3 separate regions of the Homo sapiens genome follow, and all the other regions are linked to region 2. The links are contacts of gene promoters, found by promoter capture Hi-C in human tissues and cell types (Jung and others, 2019). All regions are on one chromosome and are shown on one strand. The core of a region is centred on a gene start or on the middle of the fragment in contact, and the rest is flanking DNA. Distances in the headings are between cores, read along the strand shown. Region 1 holds the start of LOC124905261 (a long non-coding RNA gene). Region 2 holds the start of EIF2S3 (eukaryotic translation initiation factor 2 subunit gamma). Region 3 overlaps KLHL15 (kelch like family member 15).

The links. The method cuts DNA at HindIII sites, captures the fragments that hold promoters and counts their contacts. A contact is called where the count stands out against the background at its distance.
Region 1: a fragment that was not itself captured here is called in contact with the fragment with the promoter of EIF2S3 in region 2 in 1 of the 25 tissues and cell types used here (ovary).
Region 3: a fragment that was not itself captured here is called in contact with the fragment with the promoter of EIF2S3 in region 2 in 3 of the 25 tissues and cell types used here (liver, mesendoderm cells and ovary).

Annotation. Positions count from the first base shown.
Region 1 is chrX:24,086,508-24,089,207 of GRCh38, forward strand. LOC124905261 (a long non-coding RNA gene) reads left to right here and starts at 1,739. Exons shown (of 2, transcript XR_007068415.1): 1 at 1,739-2,117. The HindIII fragment of the contact is 6,471 bases long and covers 1-2,700 here.
Region 2 is chrX:24,053,694-24,056,393 of GRCh38, forward strand. It overlaps EIF2S3 (eukaryotic translation initiation factor 2 subunit gamma), which reads left to right and starts at 1,263. Exons shown (of 12, transcript NM_001415.4): 1 at 1,263-1,344; 2 at 1,922-1,985. The coding sequence starts at 1,276. RefSeq lists a silencer at 612-821 and enhancers at 882-1,431, 1,452-1,521. The HindIII fragment of the contact is 10,457 bases long and covers 1-2,700 here.
Region 3 is chrX:23,994,448-23,997,147 of GRCh38, forward strand. The region is part of intron 3 of KLHL15 (kelch like family member 15); the gene reads right to left. Among named protein-coding and RNA genes, the nearest start is that of KLHL15, 31 kb to the right of the region's middle. The HindIII fragment of the contact is 5,387 bases long and covers 1-2,700 here.

The DNA.
Region 1 (2,700 bases), core at 109-2,608, 33 kb after region 2:
CTTATCCTTCTACAATATGTCGTCTTTTGGCATCTGGCTTCTTCCACTTAAAAAAAAATTTTTTTTTTTTGAGACAGTCTGACTCTGTCACCTGGGCTGGAGTGCAGTGGTGCGATATTGGCTCACTGCAACCTCCGCCTCCCGGGTTCAAGTGATTCTCCTGCCTCAGCCTCCCAAGTAGCTGGGATTACGGACATATGCCACCATGCCCAACAAATTTCTGTATTTTTAGTAGAGACGAAGTTTCACCATGCTGGCCAGGTTGGTCTTGGACTTCCGACCTCAGGTGATCTGCCTGCCTTGGCCTCCCAAAGTGCTGGGATTACAGGCATGAGCCACTGTGCTCGGCTGTATGTTTTAATTGCTTTAAGTAGATTCCTAGGAGTGAAATGTTGGGTTGTGTGGTAAGTCTATGTTAAACTTAGAAACTGCTAAATGTTTGCAAAGTGGCTGTGCTATTTTATTTTATTTTATTTTATTTGGGACGGAGTCTTGTTCTGTCACCCAGGCTGCAGTGCAGTGGCATGATCTTGGCTTACTGCAAACTCTGCCTCCCGGGTTCAAGCGATTCTCCTGCCTCAGCCTCCTGAGTAGCTGGGACTACAGGTGTCCGCCACCATGCCCAGCGAATTTTTGTATTTTTAGCAGAGGCGGGGTTTCACCGTGTTGGCCAAGCTGGTCTCAAACTCCTGACCTCAAATGATCCACCCACCTCAGCCTCCCAAAGTGCTGGGATTACAGGCATGAGTTACCATGCCCAGCCAGGCTGTGCCATTTTATATTCCTATCAACAATAGAGCAGGGTTCCAGTTTCTCAATATCCTCTCTAATACTTGGTAATTTTTTTTATTACAGTTGCCCCCCCTTACCTGCAGGGCATATATCCCAAGACCCTCAGTGAATCCCTGAAACAGTAGCTAGTACCAAATCCTATATATACTATATTTTTTGATCTGATAACCAAGATGGCTACTAGGTGATTAACGCACAGATAGTATGTACAGCATGGATATGCTGCGCAAGGGGATGGTTCACACCCTAGGCAAGACAGAGTGAGATGGCATGATATTTTATCATGCTATTCAGAACAGCACACAATTCAAAATTTATGAATTGCTTATTTCTGGAATTTTCAATTTAATATTTTCAGACTGGTTTACCACAGGTAACTGAAACCTTGGAGATAAGGGGGGATTACTGTATAACCCCCCCTTTTTTTTGAGACAGGGTCTCACTGTGTTGCCCGTGTTGGGGTGCAGTGGCACAATCTCGGGTCACTGCTACCTCCGCCTCCTGGGTTCAAGCAATTCTGCTTCAGCCTCTGGAGTAGCTGGGATTACAGTCGCCTGCCACCCCGCCTGGCTAATTTTTGTATTTTTAGTAGAGACGGGATTTCACCATGTTGGCCAGGCTGGTCTCGAACTCCTGACCTCAAGTGATCCGCCTGCCTTGGCCTCCCAAAGTGCTGGGATTACAGGTGTGAGCCACCATGCCAGGCCTGTATAACCCTTTTTTTTTTTTTTGCGACTGAGTCTCGCTCTGTCACCTAGGCTGGAGTGCAGTGGCACGATCTTGGCTCACTGCAACCTCTGCCTCCCTGGTTCAAGCGATTCTCCTGCCTCAGCCTCCTGAGTAGCTGGGATTACAGGTGCCTGCCACCACGTCCGGCTAATTTTTTGTATTTTTAGTAGAAACAGGGTTTCACCGTGTTAGCCAGGATGGTCTCGATCTCCTGACCTCGTGATCTGCCCACCTCGGCCTCCCAAAGTGCTGGGATTACAGGCGTAAGCCACCACGCCCAGCCCTGTATAACCATTTTAGTGGGTATATAGTGGTATCTTGTTGTGGTTTAAATTTGCATTTTCCTAATGACTAATGATGTTGAGCACTTTTCATGTGCTTCTTAGCATATAACTTCTGGAAGTTTTATAGTTTTGGTTCTATTGTAAGTTAATTTTTCAATGGTGTGGGGTAAAGGTCTACGTTCATTTTTAAATTTTTATTTATTTTGTTTTATTTTGTAGAGATGTGGTCTCACTATGTTGCTCAGGCTAATCTCAAACTCCTGGCCTCAAGTGATCCTCTCGTCTCAGCCTCTCAAACTGCTGGGATTACAGGTATGAGCCATCACACCCAGCCTAATTTTATTTTTAAATGGATGTCTAATTCTCCCAAAGCATTTGTTGAAAAGATTATTCTTTCCCCACTGGATTATCTTGGCATCTTTATTGAAAATCAGTTGACATAAGTATAAAAGTTAATTTCTTTAATTCTACTCTATTGATCTATATGCCACACTGTCTTGATTATTGTGACTTTACAGGGAGTTTTGAAATTGGAATTGGGTAACGTAAATCCTTCAGCTTTGTCTTCTTTTTTTGTTCAGAACTGTTTTGGCTATTTGAAATCCTTTGAATTCCCATATAACTTTTAGGATCTGCTTGTCAAATCCCCCCCCCCCCAACAAAAAAAACCCAAACCTTCTGGAATTTTGTTAGGGATCACACTAAATTTCTAGATCCAGTTTGGAGGGAAGTACCATCTTGACAATATTGATTCTTCTAATTCATAAACATGGGATGTCTTTTAGTAGAGACGGGTTTCACCAGGTTGGCCAGGCTGGTCTCAAACTCTTGACCTCAGGTGATCTGCCCACCTCAGCCTCCAAAGTGCTGGGATTACAGGCATGAGTCACCGCTC
Region 2 (2,700 bases), core at 13-2,512:
CGCCCGCCACCACGGGCGGCTAATTTTTTTTTTTTTTTGTATTTTTAGTAGAGACGGAGTTTCACCATATTGGCCAGGCTGGTCTCGAATTCCTGACCTCGTGATCCACCCGCCTCAGCCTCCCAAAGTGCTGGGATTACAGGCGTGAGCCACCGCGCCCGGCCTCATAATATTTATTTCCTAAATAAGCTAACTTGATGACTACTTACAAGTATTCTAAAGTGAGCTTGGCTTCTCAGTATTCGTCATTGTGGCTTTCATATTATCTTTTCACTTCTCTTTACTATACTTTTGCATAATAGCTGTCTAACAAGTTTTTATGGAAATAAATTTATTGCAAACAAAAAAGGAAATAGCTGTTTATGATAAAATTTGTATAGAAATGCAAGGAGAAAAACAAATCACTCAACTGCTTTTCAACACGACGAAAAGTGGGTTAAGGTCTCAAAATTCTTTAAATTTTAAAATACCGATTTATCGGTAATCGAGGTTTTTTTGGATCTGCTTCTTTAAGAAAAAAAAAAACAAAACACACACACACAAACCAGCGAACTTCAGACGCTCTTACGACACCTAGCTATATTCACTGGGAACGCAATCTAACGTCACCAAGGCCCACCTCCCGGGCCCTAGAAATCGCTCTCTGGGAACAAGCTGGGGACTTTGATTTTGCTAGCCCTGCCCCTCTGAGCCCTTCACCAAACTTCCGCGCGGGGGCGCCCGCCCCACCTCCCGCCGGGGCTCAGCACGCGGCCTTCTCCCAGCCAAGAGCCCCGTCATAGGTGGGCGCCGACCCCGAGCCGATCTCGCTTTATTAAATTACAGAAATCGGTATTCAAAAAAAAAAAAAAAAAAGGGCGGGGAGGACACTCCCTCTTCTCTGTTCCCACACCCTAGCTGATTCCCAGGTTTCGGGAAACTCCACAGGAAACGGAAATGGTCTCTCCCAGGCCAGCGCGCGCGCCGGGTTGCATCACCCGCCTCGCACGGGCCGGCGGGGCGGGGGTTTGGTGGCTGCCCTCAGTATTGCCTGCACAAATATCTACCAGGTCTGCGACGAATAGCTCCAGCAACTTCGCACCGTGTTTTCCACTCAGCCTACCGACAGGCACTGTGCAGATTCAAGCGGAGAGATGTCCAAGCAGTGAGGCCGCTGCTGCACCGGCCATCCTGAGCCCCTACTCGGCCTTCCCGTCTCCGCTTCCCCGCCCCGCACTAGGACCCCTGCAGATGATCAGGCGGCAGCCGGGGTGATTTCCTTCCTCTTTTGGCAACATGGCGGGCGGAGAAGCTGGAGTGACTCTAGGGCAGCCGCATCTTTCGCGTCAGGATCTCACCACCTTGGTGAGGTTTTGCTTGGGGAGGATGCAGAGTGAGCTCAGGAGTGGAGGTGACCGAGCCTCCCGGTGGTATTGGGACTAGTCAGTGTCGGGAGCATGGGTCAGGAGCCTGGGTCAGGAGGGAGACCTGGAACTGGGCGCCCTAAGCCATGCTCGCGCCGCCTGTACCCAGGCCAGTCCACGATCTGGGCGCAGGCGTGTACGGTCGTGGGACTTCTAGCTTCTGGAGGGTTCGGCTGGAAAGTCTTGATGTTGATTGTCATGGTTTCAGCCTCTGAACGTCTGGGAAGGGGGTGTCCTGTCTGCATTACTTTTAGTGCTAATGTTCCCAAGATTGGGGGGATCTCTGACTTCCAGATATCCCCTAATAGTTGAGTGGAGGTGTAGTCTGTTGTGTAATGATGAAGGGCTCTTAACAGCTTCCCAGCCATAGGAGTACAAAGTTACTGATAGGGAAAAGGAGCTTTAGAAGTAGTGGAAAGCTGTGCAGATGGTGGCAAGATGTAGATAGCAAACGTAAAGTCAAAGGAAAAGTTCTCATTTGTTTTACGTGCAGTGTTTTAAAATATATTTCATTGCAGGATGTTACCAAGTTGACGCCACTTTCACACGAAGTTATCAGCAGACAAGCCACAATTAACATAGGTAAGAGTAACTTAAGAGACCTAACCTTGGTCTCCAACAATTAATTTTAACCTCACTTTTTGTGTGATTACTTGAATAGTATGAGGATTCAGATATTCAAGAAATAGATACTGAGTCCTTGTGAATAAAGCATCTGCTACATTTGCGGTGCAGGGGGAGCACAAAGAATGCTGCCCACATGTAGCTTACAGACTCGGTAAGAAGAAAAAATGGAGACATAAGAAAAGTTTAATAGCATAAGGCAGTATGTAGTCATATGTAGCAGAAGTTTAAGGAAGAGGTGAAAAATGTGGCTGTACTTGACACACAGGATTATTTCAAGGGCAGAATTTATGAAAGTTTTATTTGATGTACAAGCTGTGATTAAATAGAAGGTTTTTTTTCTTAATTGGCACCTAGAACTTTAGAGGAGAAGTTACGTTGACTGAGTGTAAATTTTGGACATTTTGAGTTTGTACAAACAGCACAGTTTGTACGAAAGTAAGTTAAAAAGTACAGAAGTAAGTTAAAAAGTAAGACTAGTTTTTAACCTAGTTAAAAAGTAAGACTCCACCATGAGGCTATTAAAGTTACAGTATTACAGTCTGGAGCTTTAATTTATTAATGCAAACAAAGCCCAAATAAGCCTACAGGCCTTGAACTACTGCCCCTGCATTAAAAATTTTGGTTGAGGTGACCTTGGAGCATAACCTAACCTCCGAACAACCTATGCTAA
Region 3 (2,700 bases), core at 87-2,586, 59 kb before region 2:
ATGCAGCTGTGAAAAAGAGTGAGGTTGATCCATATGCACTAACACAGATATTCAAAATGTTAAATAAGAAAACTGCAGAACAGTATGTGGCTCATCTTTTCATAGAGAAGGCACTTCTCCCATCCTTCATTTCTCACATAACAGTTTATCTGTGTATCAGGTACTCTCAAAGAGGTATGGAAAGAACGACATTTCTTTCATGTTCTGAATTACTTTCCTTTGCCTTTCACAGGATTAAACAGCTGTCATGTTTTAAAGCTTGGAAAGAATGTTACTACTTTTCTTGCTTTGATACTTTAAAAAACTGTATAATGAAAAGCATTTTGTCTTATTCTGAATATATCATATAATTATATATAATTTCAGTGGTCTGAAAAAAAATTTTTTTAATTTACTGATTATTTAATAAAATAGAGATTGGGTCTCACTATATTACCCAGTCTGGCCTTAAAATCCTGAGCTGAAGTGATCTTCCCACCTCGGCCTCCCAAAGTGCTGGGATTACCAGCATGAGCCACCTTGCCCAGCCTGAAAATGTAAATTGTCCATTTCCTCTAAACATCTTTTACTTTAATTGTGTGTGCATGTATGATATAGCTGACAATGAAGTATGAGAAATGATTAACTTTGAATACAGTTCCTGTAAATATGTATACACATACACACACACACGCATATATACACACACACAAATATATAAAGTTGGAGAAATAACTAGCCATTACAGCTGGGCAAATATTTCATGTTTCTCCATTCACTGTCAAAATGTTATATCATAGTGAAACCCAGTCTCTAATAAAAATACAAAAATTATCCGGGCATGTTGGTGTGCGCCTGTAGTCCCAGTTACTCGGGAGGCTGAGGCAGGAGAATTGCTTGAACCCGGAAGGTGGAGGTTGTGGTGAGCCAAGATCACGCCACTGCACTCCAGCCTGGGCAACAGAGCGAGACTCTGTCTCAAAAAAAAAAAAAAAAAAAAGGCTGGCTAAAAGCCTAAAATAATTCTAGACTGTAGCCAGTTAGAGTACATTTTTTTTTAATTCCAGATTTTTTAATCAAATAAAGGTAGTAAACTCTGTGGAAATCCCTATTTTAATTATATTGCAAGTTACATTTTAATTCTCTCAAAATTAAAGACGGTATATACAAATTACCTTTAAAACTTAAGAATCTGAATACCATGTGGCCAGGCTGGTCTTGAACTCGTGACATCATGATCTGCCTGCCTCAGCCTTCCGAAGTACTGGGATTACAGGCATGAGCCACCGTGCCCAGCCTAGCCAGCCAATTTAAGATACACTTTTTGAAAGAAAAAAAAAATTGAGACGGATTTCACTTGTTGCCCAAGCTGGAGTACAATGGTGCGATCTTGGCTCACTGCAACCTCCACCTCCTGGGTTCAAGTGATTCTCCTGCCTGTCTCCCGAGTAGCTGGGATTACAGGCACATGCCACCATGCCCGGCTAATTTTTTGTATTTTTAGTAGAAATGGGGTTTCACCATGTTAGCAAGGCTGGTCTCGAACTCCTAACCTCAGGTGATCTGCCTGCCTTGGCCTCCCAAAGTGCTGGGATTACAGGCATGAGCCACCACACCCAGCCACGAAATAATTTTTAAAATATCCAATATGCTTATATTAAATCAAAGAAACAAAATACCTTTTATTAGTTTATCTATCAGAAGGGGTGGAAGTGGGGGAGCAATTCCTGAACTTAAGATGGTGCCTGGCCCTATTAAAGAGGTTACCTGTGTGAACAGGCACCTCTCTGGCCCTTTCTACATCCAAAAAATGCTAACCTAATCGCTCGAATGACAAGTACAAGGAGGTATCAAGACTGAGTCTTGGTTGTCAGTTTTATCATCTCTTCTCCACCATGATGCAATCTTCCCAAGTAGTTACTATCGTGGTGCTTTAATGCTGAAACAAACCATATCAGGCCGGGCGTGGTGGCTCACGCCTGTAATCCCAACACTTTGGGAGGCCAGGCGAGCGGATCATGAGGTCAGGAGTTCGAGACTAGCCTGGCAAACATGGCGAAACCCTGTCTCTACTAAAAATACAAAAATTAGCTGGGCGTGGTGGGGGGCACCTGTAATTCCAGCTACTCAGGAGGCTGAGGTAGGAGAATCGCTTGATCCCGGGAGGCAGAGGTTGCAGTGAGCCGAGATCGCACCGCTGCACTCCAGCTTGGATGACAGAGCGAGACTCCATCTCAAAAAACAAAACAAAACAAAAAAACCCTGTATCAGCTACATTTGATATAATTTTGATTCTCAGTAAAACATGGAGCAGTCTTTAGATGCTATATTGCAAAACTATGTACCCTGGTATGAGAAGTCTTTATTTGTAAAATCTTGCTCAGAACTAAAGCTTATATTGATTTACGTAAAACAAAATCATCACAAAAAAAGCTAGGTGCAATATGCCTTTAATCAATCCCTTTGTCCTGAAAAACTGAGTTAATGACCAAGGATAAAGCTATGAAAAATCAGTTCATGCTAAGCATAAATCCTTTCAGTCATACTGTATTTATAGTCAATACCAAATGGTAAATAAAGATAAATCGTAGTAAGAATTTACTCACCCTCTTCTCTCCAAGCAGGCAAAGTCAAAAATGAACTGAACTTCAGAAGTGAACTTCAGAAGTAAAGTGACCAGGGTAAATAGGGGTGAGGGAGAGGTGCCCTCAGGGCAAGAGA